Regions from separate parts of the Homo sapiens genome. Here regions 1, 2 and 4 are each linked to region 3. Evidence: promoter capture Hi-C in 16 types of primary human blood cells and fetal thymus (Javierre and others, 2016). All regions are on one chromosome and are shown on one strand. Each heading gives the region's core, a stretch centred on a gene start or on the middle of the fragment in contact. The rest is flanking DNA. Distances are from core to core; before and after follow the strand shown.

The links. The method cuts DNA at HindIII sites, captures the fragments that hold promoters and counts their contacts. A CHiCAGO score of 5 or more calls a contact.
Region 1: a fragment that was not itself captured here is called in contact with the fragment with the promoter of ACRBP in region 3 in 14 of 17 cell types (activated CD4 T cells, naive CD4 T cells, non-activated CD4 T cells and 11 more); the score reaches 23.1 in activated CD4 T cells.
Region 2: the fragment with the promoter of GPR162 here is called in contact with the fragment with the promoter of ACRBP in region 3 in 12 of 17 cell types (naive CD4 T cells, endothelial precursors, activated CD4 T cells and 9 more); the score reaches 10.1 in naive CD4 T cells.
Region 4: a contact is called between a fragment that was not itself captured here and the fragment with the promoter of ACRBP in region 3, in 17 of 17 cell types (naive CD4 T cells, activated CD4 T cells, naive CD8 T cells and 14 more). The highest score is 20.0, in naive CD4 T cells.

What each region holds. Positions count from the first base shown.
Region 1 is chr12:6,796,243-6,799,360 of GRCh38, reverse strand. The region is part of intron 1 of CD4 (CD4 molecule); the gene reads right to left. Among named protein-coding and RNA genes, the nearest start is that of CD4, 8.3 kb to the right of the region's middle. The HindIII fragment of the contact is 2,728 bases long and covers 30-2,757 here.
Region 2 is chr12:6,820,189-6,823,399 of GRCh38, reverse strand. It overlaps GPR162 (G protein-coupled receptor 162), which reads right to left and starts at 1,579. Exons shown (of 5, transcript NM_019858.2): 1 at 1,500-1,579. It overlaps CD4 (CD4 molecule), which reads right to left. Exons shown (of 10, transcript NM_000616.5): 10 at 2,601-3,211. RefSeq lists an enhancer at 1,596-2,568. The HindIII fragment of the contact is 21,739 bases long and covers 1-3,211 here.
Region 3 is chr12:6,645,715-6,649,048 of GRCh38, reverse strand. It overlaps ACRBP (acrosin binding protein), which reads left to right and starts at 1,617. Exons shown (of 10, transcript NM_032489.3): 1 at 1,617-1,725; 2 at 2,037-2,255; 3 at 2,472-2,566. The coding sequence starts at 1,683. RefSeq lists enhancers at 1,690-1,759, 1,683-2,196. The HindIII fragment of the contact is 16,958 bases long and covers 1-3,334 here.
Region 4 is chr12:6,776,126-6,779,192 of GRCh38, reverse strand. It overlaps LAG3 (lymphocyte activating 3), which reads right to left. Exons shown (of 8, transcript NM_002286.6): 6 at 1,687-1,929; 7 at 1,272-1,402; 8 at 738-949. The coding sequence ends at 803. Among named protein-coding and RNA genes, the nearest start is that of LAG3, 5.1 kb to the right of the region's middle. RefSeq lists enhancers at 1-228, 431-480, 229-879. The HindIII fragment of the contact is 5,544 bases long and covers 1-3,067 here.

The DNA.
Region 1 (3,118 bases), core at 144-2,643, 150 kb before region 3:
CAACCAAAAGGCACATGCTGGCTAAAGCTTAGGCAGCTTGAGGAAAAAGAGAAAAAAAACACATAGAAAAGGCCATGAAATATAGCAAAGTGATGCTGATACCATTCGCAGGTCATCCTTGATCCATAGTGGATCGTACTGTGCTTAATAAACTTTTGCTGCTTTGCTATTTGTGTGTGTCATGTCCAATTTTTTGTTTGCGGCACCAACAACTTGGGACTTCACAACATCAGCCAGTAACAAAGTAAACTTGCACACCCCTAACTGGATGCTCTGAGATACACACCACGAAATGCTATGCTCAGGCCAGGAGGGGGTTCTTTGCTGGGATGAGTGAGGAGGGGATCAGAAAAGGATGCATGGAGAAGGTGGCAAATTGGCGGGGAGACCATGGAGCCAGGCCAGGACGTGGAAATGCTTGAAGGCCGTGCTGAGATGCTGGGACTGGATCCTGGGCACTAGAGAGCCAGCAGAGGATTTTCTATAGAGAAGAAGATTATTAGATTTGCCACGTGGACCCCTGCAGCTGCTGAGTGAAAGAACTGGAGGAGGCGAGGCACCAAAGGCAGAACTGCAACCATCCTGGTCAGCAAAGGGCCTGAGCCAAGTGGCTGTAGAAATGTGTGGGACAGTTCTAAGGTGACGTTCCCAAGAATTGGGGCCTGATACAGCGTGAGAGGTATGGGGAAAAGAAAGAGAGATCAGATTGTTACTGTGTCTATGTAGAAAAAGGAAGACATAAGAAACTCCATTTTGATCTGTACTAAGAAAAATTGTTCTGCTTTGAGATGCTGTTAATCTGTAACTTTTGTCCCAACCCTGTGCTCACAAAAACATGTCCTGTATTGAATCAAGGTTTAATGGATCTAGGGCTGCGCAAGATGCACTTTTAAAAAGTTCTTGCCTCACACGTGTAATCCCAGCATTTTGGGAGGCCAAGGCGGGCGGATCATGAGGTCAGGAGATCGAGACCATCCTGGTGAACACGGTGAAACCCCATCTCTACTAAAAAAATACAAAAAAATTAGCCGGGCGTGGTGGCGGGCGCCTGTAGTCCCAGCTACTCGGGAGGCTGAGGCAGGAGAATGGCGTGAACCCGGGAGGCAGAGGTGGCAGTGAGCCGAGATCGCGCCACTGCACTCCAGCCTGGGCGACAGAGCAAGACTCTGTCTCAAAAAAAAAAAAAAAGAAAAGTTCTTGCAGGCAGTGTGCTTGGTGAAAGTCATCACCATTCTCCGTTCTCTATTAACCAGAGACACAATACACTGTGGAAGGCCGCAGGAACCCCTGCCCGAGAAAGCCTAGGTATTGTCCAGGTTTCCCCCCACTGAGACAGCCTGAGATATGGCCTCATGGGAAGGGAAAGACCTTACAGCCCCCCAGCCCGACACCCGTAAAGGGTCTGTGCTGAGGAGGATTAGTGAAGGAGGAAGGCCTCTATTCGGTTGAGATAAGAGGAAGGCATCTGTCTCCTGCTCGTCCCTGGGAATGGAATGACCCGGTGTAAAACCGATCATACATTCTATTTTGAGAGAGGAGAAAACTGCCTTATGTCTGGAGGCGAGACATCATGGCGGCAATACTGCTCTGTTACTCTTTACTACACTGAGATGTTTGTGTAAAGTTAAACATAAATCTAGCACATCCAGGCACAGCACCTTTCCTTAAACTTATTTATGACACAGAGTCTTTGCTCATATGTTTTTCTGCTGACCCTCTCCTCACCTTCACCCTATAGCCCCACCACATTCCCCTCGCGGAGATAGTAAAGATAGTGATCAATAAATACTGAGGGAACTCAGAGACCAGCACCGGTGCAGGTCCTCACTTGCTGAGCGCCGGTCCCCTGGGCCCACTTTTATTCCTCTATACTTTCTCTGTGTCTTATTTCTTTTCTCAGTCTCTTGTCTCCACCTTGCGAGAAATACCCACAGGTGTGGAGGGGCAGGCCCCCTTCAGAGAGGTCAGGGGAGAAAGAGCAGAGGGCCATTTCTCTGTCCAATATCAGACCAACCCTACAAGGCCTCTGAGTGGGCCAAGCAGAAGGCGTTGGTCCAGGGTTTGGATGAAGGAGAGTTTCCTGTGCGCTTGGCAGACAGGCGAGACTGGGGGTGGTGGGGGCAGGGCAGAGAGGCTCTGAATGGACCATGGGGAATGGACAGCTGTAGATTAGAGGAGCGATTCCCAAAGTCCTGGATCAGTAGCAGCGGCAACATGACCTGGGAACTTGTTAGAAATGCAGATCCTCGGCCCCACCCCAGACCTGCTGAATCAGAAACTGGGGGTGGGTCTAGTCATCTGGGTTTTCACAAATCTCCAGGTAACTGATCACGCTCAAGTTTGAAAACCATAAGTTAGATGGAGAGGAAAGGGGAGAGGTGTCCCCATTCTGAGGTGTGCAAAGGTGGTAGGGATGTGCGAGGAGGCTTCGGAGGAAAGAGAGGGCTCAGGGAGGTGATGGTGGAAGAAGGTATGGGAAAAGCCTTTGAGGCTTGACTGTAAATCTTTTTATTTTTAGTTTAGATCCACTCTGTCACCCAGGCCAGAGTGCAGTGGTTCAATCATAGGTCATTGCAGCCTGGAACTCCTGGGCTCAAGTGATCCTTTCATGACAACACCCAGCTAATTTGTGCAGGCAGTGATTGCAAATATTGACAGGCAGGTCGAAGAGCTGGAGCTTTGTCCTGGAGGTGAGGGGACCCACTGCTGATTTTTTGGTAAAGATGTGGCATGGTCTGTGTGGAGCTTCGGGAAGCTTGATGTGGTAACTGGGGACCAGATGACATGGGACTGGAGCAGTGATTATAGGAAAGGCACCAAGATAGCACCTCAAAGGAAGGCTGGAGCAGGGCTCAAGTGTCTTTGAATCCAGGCCTAGGATATAAAGTGGGCTCAGAGAGGTGACTGCCTGGGGAAGGTGTCACCATGGACCTGGCCCCTGCTGGTGAGACAAGATCTTGCCTCCAGACTTACTCTGTCTTCCAAGCTTGGTCCTTCTTTCCCCCAGTGGCATCTTTGCCGTTGAAGCTTGGTGACGATCTGCCTACTCTGAAGTCCCACAGCACCCCGTTGACATGCTCCTGGGTGTGTTCCACCTTCTACTTTGTGTATAGTGATT
Region 2 (3,211 bases), core at 330-2,829, 170 kb before region 3:
CTCCTGTGCCCCCTTTCTTGAAACTATAGGCATGACTGATTACTAAGGCCCTGAGGGTCATTCAGAACATTCCTTTGCCTTAACTCTGACAGCTAAACACCCCACACAGATGAGAGCCGCACTCTTCCAGACCTCTAGGGAAGAAGGTATTCCCACCTCCCTGTCTCCTTTAGCCCTTCCTCCTCCCGCTGGAACTCCCAGGTTCCTTCTTAGAACATCCCCTGCTCAGCACTACTCCACCCCTATCTTCAAGTCCCTAAATGTCTCTTCAGAACTACTGATGGGAGACACAAGACTGGTTTCCTCTTGAGGGTTCACAGTGAACTGGGATATGGCATCACAGCCTTCCTCCCCTACCTGCCGGTCTCCTGGATGCAGGGGTCTTGGTGCTTAGCCCCTACTTCCCCAAACCTGGGTGATCACCCTCCAGCTACCCATATCTGGGAAAATGGGAGAAAGGAGTCTGGGACCGAAGGGGGTGCTAGGGAACCTGAAGGCGGGGAAACCGCTGACATCAGAAGCATCCAGAAATGGAAAGAGGGGGAACTAGGGAGAAGGAGGAGAGTTTGAGCAGAAGAGAAAGAGGGGGCAAAGTGGTAGTATCTGAAAATAGCAGGAAAAGCTCAAACCCCCTGGAGAGGAGGCTTTGGAGGGAGGAGGGACTGGAGGAGGGAGGGAGGGAGGGAGCAGGGAATAGGAGGCTGAGAAGAAAAGCCAAATGTTCAATAAGGTGCTGACTCCCCGTGGGGAGACCTTGACTCTTCCTCCCTGGCCCAGAGCCTCAGTTTCCCTCTCATGGGAGGAAGGATGGTCCCAGTTTTAGTGCGTGATGCTGAGCTTCAGTGAGCCCTGGGAAGGGGGGTAAGGGAATCGGGTGAAACCCTGAACAGAGTGGGGCTGTAAGGAAGCACATAATGGCTTTAGGGTAAGTGGGGTAAAAATGGGGCACAGCAGTGAAAGGGTCTGTTTCCCATGGAAGCAGCTCAGACCCTTGCTTTCCCCAAGAGGTCCTGGTCCACCCCCACCCTTGGCTTCCCTCCGGAGCCCAGTACACCCTAGTTGCCATGGCAATGGCCAGCCAGAGGGAGGTGGAGGGACTTGGCCAAGAGCAGCCCCCAGTGTCCTCTCCTACAGCCCTGGACCCCTTCCCACCCACCTCCACCCAGGCCCAGCTGGTGGGCTCAGGATGAAAGAGATAGGGAGTCAGAGAGGGAAGGAGGCAGGAAAGATGTGAAGGACAGAGAGAGGGAGGTGAAGGACAGGGAGAGATCAGAGGAAGGTGGGAAGGGGGATCTGGGAGGTTCCCTGGCCGACGGGGTCCCTCGCCCTTTGGGGTGAAGGGGTAAGGTCAGGCGGCTCCTCCCTCCTGTCCCCCTCCAGGTTCTCCAGGGCAGAAACAGCAGGTGGCTGGGGAGGAGGGGCCGGCCTAGGGGAGAGGAGGCAGCTTGAGGGGGAAAGGGAGGCAACACAGGGGACGGGGCAGGCAGGGGTCGTCTTACCTCTCTCCGGCTGCGCCCAGCACTGCCATGGAGACCGCACTCCCGACGCGGCTCTCTCGGGCTCCCGCTGCCTGCCGGCTCCAGCTCGCCCGCCCTCCTCCCTCCTTCCCTCTCTCCCTCCCTCCCTTCCCCCGGGCCTCCCTCCTCCCCCTCAGTCCCGGCCTCCCAGGCTCAGCCCACGGCTCACTCGGTCTCTGCCCCTCTCACTCTCCAGGACCCTCTCTCCCGGGGTCGTCCTGCCAGTGAGCCCAGGCCAGAGGGAAGGCAGGACAGCTTTGTGGGGGGCGGGGGGGGGCGGGAAACGAGTGCAGGGTGGGGAACTGGACGGTGGTGACTCGGGGAGGAGGGGCAAGGAAGGCGCTGAGAGGGAGGGCGGTGAGGAGGATGGCTGGGAACCGGCTTCATTGGTGAAATGGTTCATGTCCTGCCCCCACCCCTTCCCGTTTTCAACACGAACACAAGCTCCAAGAGGCAGCTGGTGTTGTTGGGGACTGAGGAGCTAGCTGTTCGGGGAGGAGGAAGCGTGTGTCACTGTGTGTATCTGTGTGAGGGCTGGGCCTTGGGTTTGGGAGTGAGGGGGCTTGTGGTGCACACTGGGGCTGCTTGTGGAGTTGGGGGTGGTTGTGCACAAGCTAAAAGGATGTGGGCGCATGCATGCACACAGACACACACACTCTGCCTCCTCCTCCTGGAACACAAACACATATGTTGGGGATACAATTTGCACACACATGTTACAGTTTCTCATAGTCCTTTTTCTCTGCCACACACATACACCAGGAGAGCTCACACAACCCTGAGTCTCTCCCCCACGGTATATCACACACATGTAATTACAGAGTCTCAGCCTCACACACACACAGGCCCACACAGAGCCCTGTGGGTTGTGGAGGTGGGTAGCCAGCCTCCACAGAATTTTTCCCTCTCCAGGGAAACTTCATCTCCTTCCTGGGGCACGCCCAGCAACCTCTCCTCTGGGTCCGACCCCAAAGACCAGAAGATTCCTGGTCCCCAGAGAAGGGGTCTCTCTCTCTCTCTCTCTCTCACACACACACACACACACACACACACACACACACACACACGAAGAGCATCTTTATAGTAAGTTTATTGTATTTTTATTTCAGCTCAGGGGAGCAGGGGTGGAGAGTGGGCACAAATGCAAAGTAAGCAAATGGGGAGCCCCAGCAGCAATAGGGGGGTCTTCCTGGAAGAGGCAGGCTTTAAAGACAGGAGGAGAAGGAAATAGGGAAAAGGAGTTGGGACTGAGGGAAGTGGTGAGGAAGGGTAGGAAGAGAGGGGATCCTGAGAGAAGTGGATCAAGAAGATTTGTAACCCTGATTTCCCTGTGTCCTGAATGGTCTGGAGGAGGGTAAGGGAGGGTGTGGGGCAGGCGCAGAGCCTGGCACAATCACCTTTGAGGTCCCTTAGAGGGTTCCCTCTCAGGCTAGCTACCCCCTCTCCCAGCAAAGCTCGCTTCCAGGAGGTTCTGCACAGGGTCAGTGACTGGTCACTGGGCATTCTCTCCTGCAGTGCCTGTGCTCCCAGCTTGCGCTCTGATTAGAAGAGCCAAAGGCTTTGTCCTCTGGTAACAGATTCTGCCACCAGCGGGGGATGAAGGAGGGATTTTAGACAGGGAGGCCTTCATCCCTGCTCGTAAATTCTCTGAGATGGACCCTTCCCATGGGTGCTGTGCTTCTGTGAACCCAAAA
Region 3 (3,334 bases), core at 368-2,867:
GCCAGGCTGGTCTCAAACTCCTGGCCTCAAGAGATCCACCCTCCTTGGCCTCCCAAAGTGCTGGAATTCCAGGAATGAGCCACAGTGCCTGGTCTCTATTTTATTAATTTATTTTATTTTATTTTATTTTTGAGACAGGGTCTCACTTTGTCACCCAGGCTGGAGCACAGTGGTGAGATCTCAGCTCACTGCAGCCTTGACCTCTGAAGACTCAGGTGATCCTCCTACCTCAGCCTCCCCAAGTAGTAAGTGGGACAACAGGCGCACACCACCACACCTGACAATTTTTGTATTTTTTGTAGAGACAGGGTTTCGCCATGTTGCCCAGGCTGGTCTGGAACTCCTGGGCTCAAGGAATCCACCCGCCTTGACTTCCCAAATGCTGGGATTACAGGCGTGAGCCACCAAGTCTGGCCCAAGACAATTTCTTGTTTTATTTTTCTTTTTTACTTTTGCTTTTGGGTGGGGACAGGGTCTCACTTTGTCACCCAGGCTGGAGAGCAGTGGCCCGATTGCACCTCACTGCAGCCTTGGCCTCATGGGCTCAAGCGATCCTCCCATCTCAGCCCCCCAAGAAACTGGGACTACAGGCACGTGCCACCACGCTTGGCTAATTTTTTGTACTTTTTGTAGAGACGAGGTTTCGCCCTGTTGCCCAGGCTGGAATTTCTCATTTTAAACACAAAACAGATACAAAAGCAAAAGTTCTCCTCCCATACCTCAGTGGACTGTCTTACTCGATTCTCCCTTGGAAACCACTTTCGTAGACCACTGAGCCACCCTCTTGTTTTCCCCTTGGACCCATTTTGCTCATGGAGGCGCCCTGTCTAGTTCCTACCCAGATAGGCCTTGACTTGGTTTTGCACATTCTATCTCTGCCTGCGCTTAGCTCTAGACCTCACGACCTGTTTGTTGGGCGAGTTGCTTCCCTAAGCCCCGATTTCTCATCTGTAAAACGAATGATAGTGTATCTACCTTATGGGATTCCTATGGCAATTACGTAAGGTAGTGCATGTAAAGATGCTAAGTGGCTGGCTACGGTGGCTCACACCTGTAATCCCAGCACTTTGGGAGGCCGAGGTGGGCAGATCATTTGAAGTCAGGAGTTCAAGACCAGCCTGGCCAACATGGTGAAACCCAGTCTCTACTAAAAATACAAAAATTAGGCCGGGCATGGTGGCTCACGCCTGTAATCCCAGCACTTTGGGAGGCCGAGGTGGGCGGATCACAAGGTCAAGAGATCGAGACCATCTGGCCAGCATGGTGAAATACCATCTCTACTAAAAATACAAAAATTAGCTGGGCGTGGTGGCGTGCACCTATAGTCCCAGCTACTCGGGAGGCTGAGGCAGGAGAATCACTTGAACCTGGGACGCCGAGGTTGTAGTGAGCCGAGATCGCACCACTGCACTCCAGCCTGGGCGACAGAGTAGGACTCCGTCTCAAAAAAAAAAGAAAAAGACGCTAAGTGAAGGTAGCTGTTTGCCATTCCTACCATCTGGATGGGCTCTGGCCACTTTAGGGCCCTGAGAGCCCGGCTGTCGAGGCCCCGCCCCGGCCCGCTCTTTGTGACGCGTGGGCGGTGCCCGCGTGCGCCCCGCCCCGCGCCTGCGGCTCTCTCTGCGGCTTGGCCCGTTAGAGGCGGCTTGTGTCCACGGGACGCGGGCGGATCTTCTCCGGCCATGAGGAAGCCAGCCGCTGGCTTCCTTCCCTCACTCCTGAAGGGTGAGAGGTTTACACCTGCTCCAACAGACTCTCCCCGGGCTAGTCCTCTCCCTCCCGAGAGCTCTGCTTTTACGGTTTCTGGATCGCTTCCTCATGGTGGTCGCGCTGGGTCGGCTCCCTAGGTCCTGGGATACTCCCATCTCCCCCCGCCCGCGGCCGGACCTTTGCCTCTGTCTCTAGACTCCCCCCGCCCTGGTCAGCAGGGATAACCCTCACCCCGTTCCTAATTTGCCAGTCTGGGTCTGTCTGTCCTGGTCTCGGAGCGGGTTTTGGGGTTCGGTCCTTCCATCATCCGTTCGCCCGCTCCGCAGTGCTGCTCCTGCCTCTGGCACCTGCCGCAGCCCAGGATTCGACTCAGGCCTCCACTCCAGGCAGCCCTCTCTCTCCTACCGAATACGAACGCTTCTTCGCACTGCTGACTCCAACCTGGAAGGCAGAGACTACCTGCCGTCTCCGTGCAACCCACGGCTGCCGGAATCCCACACTCGTCCAGCTGGACCAATATGAAAACCACGGCTTAGTGCCCGATGGTGAGGGCCAGACTAGGGGGGAAACCGAGGCACCCAGAGTGTTCACCCAAACCTCAGGGCAAAAACCCCTGTGCTCATGTGAGGCGGGGAAGGGCATGGCTGGCACCACACCATGAGCTCGTACTCTCCACCCTCCCCATGGCGTGGAGTCCATTGCCCACAGCCCCACCCCAAGCTCCCCACGGGTTCATCTTCTCCACCCCTGCCCTTTCTCAGGTGCTGTCTGCTCCAACCTCCCTTATGCCTCCTGGTTTGAGTCTTTCTGCCAGTTCACTCACTACCGTTGCTCCAACCACGTCTACTATGCCAAGGTGAGGCCCAGGACAAAGGTTGGATTTGGTGCCCCAGGGCCAAGGGAGAGGCGGCAGCAGTGGGGAGTTGAGGAAGGGTTCCAGGAGAGTCATCCTTAGCTCCTCCTTCCCTGCCATTTTGCCAGTCATTTACCCAGATTATATATGAATACAGTCTCACCTTGGATATTCAGATTGAACAATTCTGTTACTGCAAGAAAAGTAGAGAAGAGACTGGGCATGGTGGCTCATGCCTGTAATCTCAGCACTTTGGGAGCCCGAGATGGGCAGATCACCTGAAGTCAGGAGTTCGAGACCAGCCTGGCCAACATGGTGAAACCCCGTTTCTACTAAAAATACAAAAAAAAAAAAAAAAAATAGCCGGGCTTGGTGATGGGCGCCTGTAATCCCAGCTACTCGGGAGGCTGAGGCAGGAGAATTGCTTGAACCCGGGAGGCAAAGGTTGCAGTAAGCCGAGATCATGCCACTGCACCCTATCCTGAGTGGCAGAGCAAGACTGTGTCTCAAAAAAAAACAACAACAGGGACGAGTGCGGTGGCTCACGCCTGTAATCCCAGCACTTTGGGAGGCCGAGGCAGGCAGATCATGAGGTCAGGAGATCGAGACCATCCTGGCTAACACGGTGAAACTCTGTCTCTACTAAAAATACAAAAAATTAGCTGGGCGTGGTGGCAGGCGCCTGTAGTCCCAGCTACTCGAGAGACTGAGGCAGGAGAATGGCGTGAACCCGGGAGGTGGGGCTTGCAGTGAGCCGAGATCGCGCCACTG
Region 4 (3,067 bases), core at 419-2,918, 130 kb before region 3:
TGCCCTGCCTTGTCCACTGCACTGCTCAACTCCTCAGGCCTGCCGCAGCCGGCCCAGTGACCTCCGTTGGGGTGTGACAAGCAGTGACCACTGGGTGGCAGTGTGTTCTCATGCCTGGGACCAGAAAAGCCTCCAAGGGCTGAGGAACGTGGGGGGTGGGGCAGAGGTAGGAGCCCCAGCCGGCTGCCCAGAGAGGTTTCCAGACCGGATCTCCTGGAAGACTTGACAAGGCAGTCCTCTGCGCGCCGCGCGTGTGTGTGTGTGTGTGTGTGTGTGCGTGTGCGCGCGCGCGTGTGTGTGCATGTGTGTGTGCACGTGCGCGCGAGCATATGTGCGCATCTGCTGCAGCCGGAGGGCCAAGGACAAGTGCTGAAGTGCAGCTGAGTGTGGGGTGGGGTGGACCCAAAGGACAAAAATATCAAGGAAACCAGGGCAGCCAGCGCACTGTGGGTGGAAGGTGGGTGGAAGGACGGAGGAGAGAGCTGCGGAGGCAAGGGGCAAGGGCTTTTTCGGGGGAGCTTCAGAGAAATGATTACCCAGGAGAGAGAAAGAGAGAGTGAGCGCAAGAGAGAGAGAGACCAAGAAAGAAACACGAAGCAGCCAGAAACAGAAAAGGGGAAGGTGAGGGAGGCTGGCTGGGGAAAGTAGGTTAGGAGGCTAGGGTGGGAGAAGGGAGCCCTCAGAGGCTGGGGAGAGACGGGAACCTTCACTTGGACAAGAAAGAGCCAGACTCAGGCTTGCTGCTGACAGGGAGTTTATTTGGACTGGGCTGCTGAGATCTGCTGGCTGCCTCAGCTCCAGGTCAGAGCTGCTCCGGCTCGGGCTCGGGCTCGGGCTCCGGTTCCGGCTCCGGCTCCGGCTCCGGTTCTTGCTCCAGCTCCTCTATCTTGCTCTGAGCCTGCGGAGGGTGAATCCCTTGCTCTAAGGCAGAAAATCGTCTTGGTCGCCACTGTGAGAAGAGATGGAGAGAGAGACGGAGGGCGGAAGGAGGAGAAGGATGAAGGGAAGCGGATGAGGAGGGACACTGAGTCCCTCTATTTTTTCTCAGCGCCCCTGCCCTCCCCATCTGGTCCTGGCTTTCTCCCAACCCCCCTTCCAGCCTACCCAGGCACAAGCCATCCCTGGAGTGAGAGGCTTATGAAGAAGGGGGGCTCTGAGGGCAAGTTCAGGGTCCCATTTGGTCACCTTCCTGAGGAAGGGGTGCCATCAGCACTCTGAGGATGGAAGAGCGGGAGCTGCTGGGGGGCGGGGTTGCCATGTCCCTGGCTCACCTGTCTTCTCCAAAGGTGAAAGCCAAAGGCTCCAGTCACCAAAAGGAGCAGAGAAAGGACACCAAGGATGAGAAACAGCAGGAGGTGGCCTGCTGGGAGGGCACCTGGGGCTCTCCCAGAGCGTTGGGCACCTATGGAGAAAGTACAGGATGAGGCATAGGGTCAGGACTAGAAAGGACACTTTGTCATTCTCTCAGACTTTACAGATGCAATGAGATCCAGAGAGTTTAAGGGACTTGTCCCAGGGTCATTCAGCTGATCAGTGGCGGAAACGGGTCAACCCTAGGCAAAAGCCAGAGATCAGGTCCCTGACTGGAAAGAAAAGCGCTGGGATGGGGGTGGCAGGGGCTGTTCTGGAAGGAGGATAAAGATTATTGCTGTGGCGTTTGGGTCCTGGCATTCTGGGGCCTCGGACCTGGGCTAGACAGCTCTGTGAAGTACACTGCTGCTCCAAGAAGCCTCTCCCCCTGGTACAGCTGGCATTGCCAAGGCTGGGAAAGGAGCTGGGCCTCCTGTGCCTCCAGCCAAGGTCCTGAGAAACTCCTCTGGGATGGGGTGTCCAGAGAGCTCCACACAAAGCGTTCTTGTCCAGATACTGGAGTCACCTCACAAAGCAGCTTCCCCAGGGATCCAGGTGACCCAAAGGATTTGGGAGTCACTGAAAAGAGTAGAAGGAAGAGATCTTTTGGGATTCTGCCCCCCTTACGTGATATCACAGGTTGAACCCCAAGTCTCAATCACCCTGCACTCACTTGGGTTCTGGCCAGGGGAGGTTGGGGAAGGACATCATGGGTCATGGCCACGTTCATCTTTTTCTTTCTATTTATTTTTTTATTAAATTGTATACAGATGCGTTTTCACCATGTTGCCCAGGCTAGTCTGGAATTCCTGGACTCAAGTGCTCCTCTCGTCTCAGCCTTTCAAAGTGCTGGGATTACAGGTGTGAGCCATCATGCCCTGCCGGCCACATTTATCTTATTCAGACAATGCTCTAGTCAGCTCCCTCCCCTGCTCAAAACATTTCCAGGCTCCCTACTGCCTTCACACTCAAACTGGCCCTGGCAGACCACAGAATAAATACTATTACAGATTCTTTTACATTACTTTCTACTCAAATGCTCAGAACCCTCAAAATCAGTCAGATGAGCTGACCCCCATCTACTTCACAATTTTGGAACTTCCATGATGCGGCTCACATCAGTGTCCCCTGCCTTGTGGTGCCCCCTGAATGAACATCATCCCCCTTTCTGAAGGTATAGAGAACAGGGAACTGACCCATTCATCTAGAGACAGAGCATTCTCCAAGTTGTAAAGTGAGAGATGGGTGGGTGGGAGGAGACAAAGGGTGAAGGGCATCTGAGTAGTGTCCTGGAGAGTGATTTGGTGATGCAGACACCTGAGTTTAGACCCAGAGTCTGGCACTTCCCAGCTGTTTTGAGAAAGTCTTCGGGGTAACAGTATCTCTCTCATTGAGCCGTCTACATAAAACAGTTGACCTTCAAGAGGGCATTGGACAGAAAGAACTGGTGGACTTTGATGACTGATGGGATGTAGAGAGGAGGAGGCCAGGTTTCGAGGTGGATGGATACCAGTGGATTACTGACAGGCTGAGTCAGCAAGGGGATTGGTGGGAGAAAAAGCTGGGGTTCAGGGTAAGGCGGCTGAGAGGTGGTATAACATCTAGTTAGAGGTATCCAGAAAGCAAGTGAAAACTCAGGATTGGCCTTCAGGAGATGTATTATCCATTAGCATGTTCACGTATTCATTCAATCTCTATACATTATTAAGCACCTGCC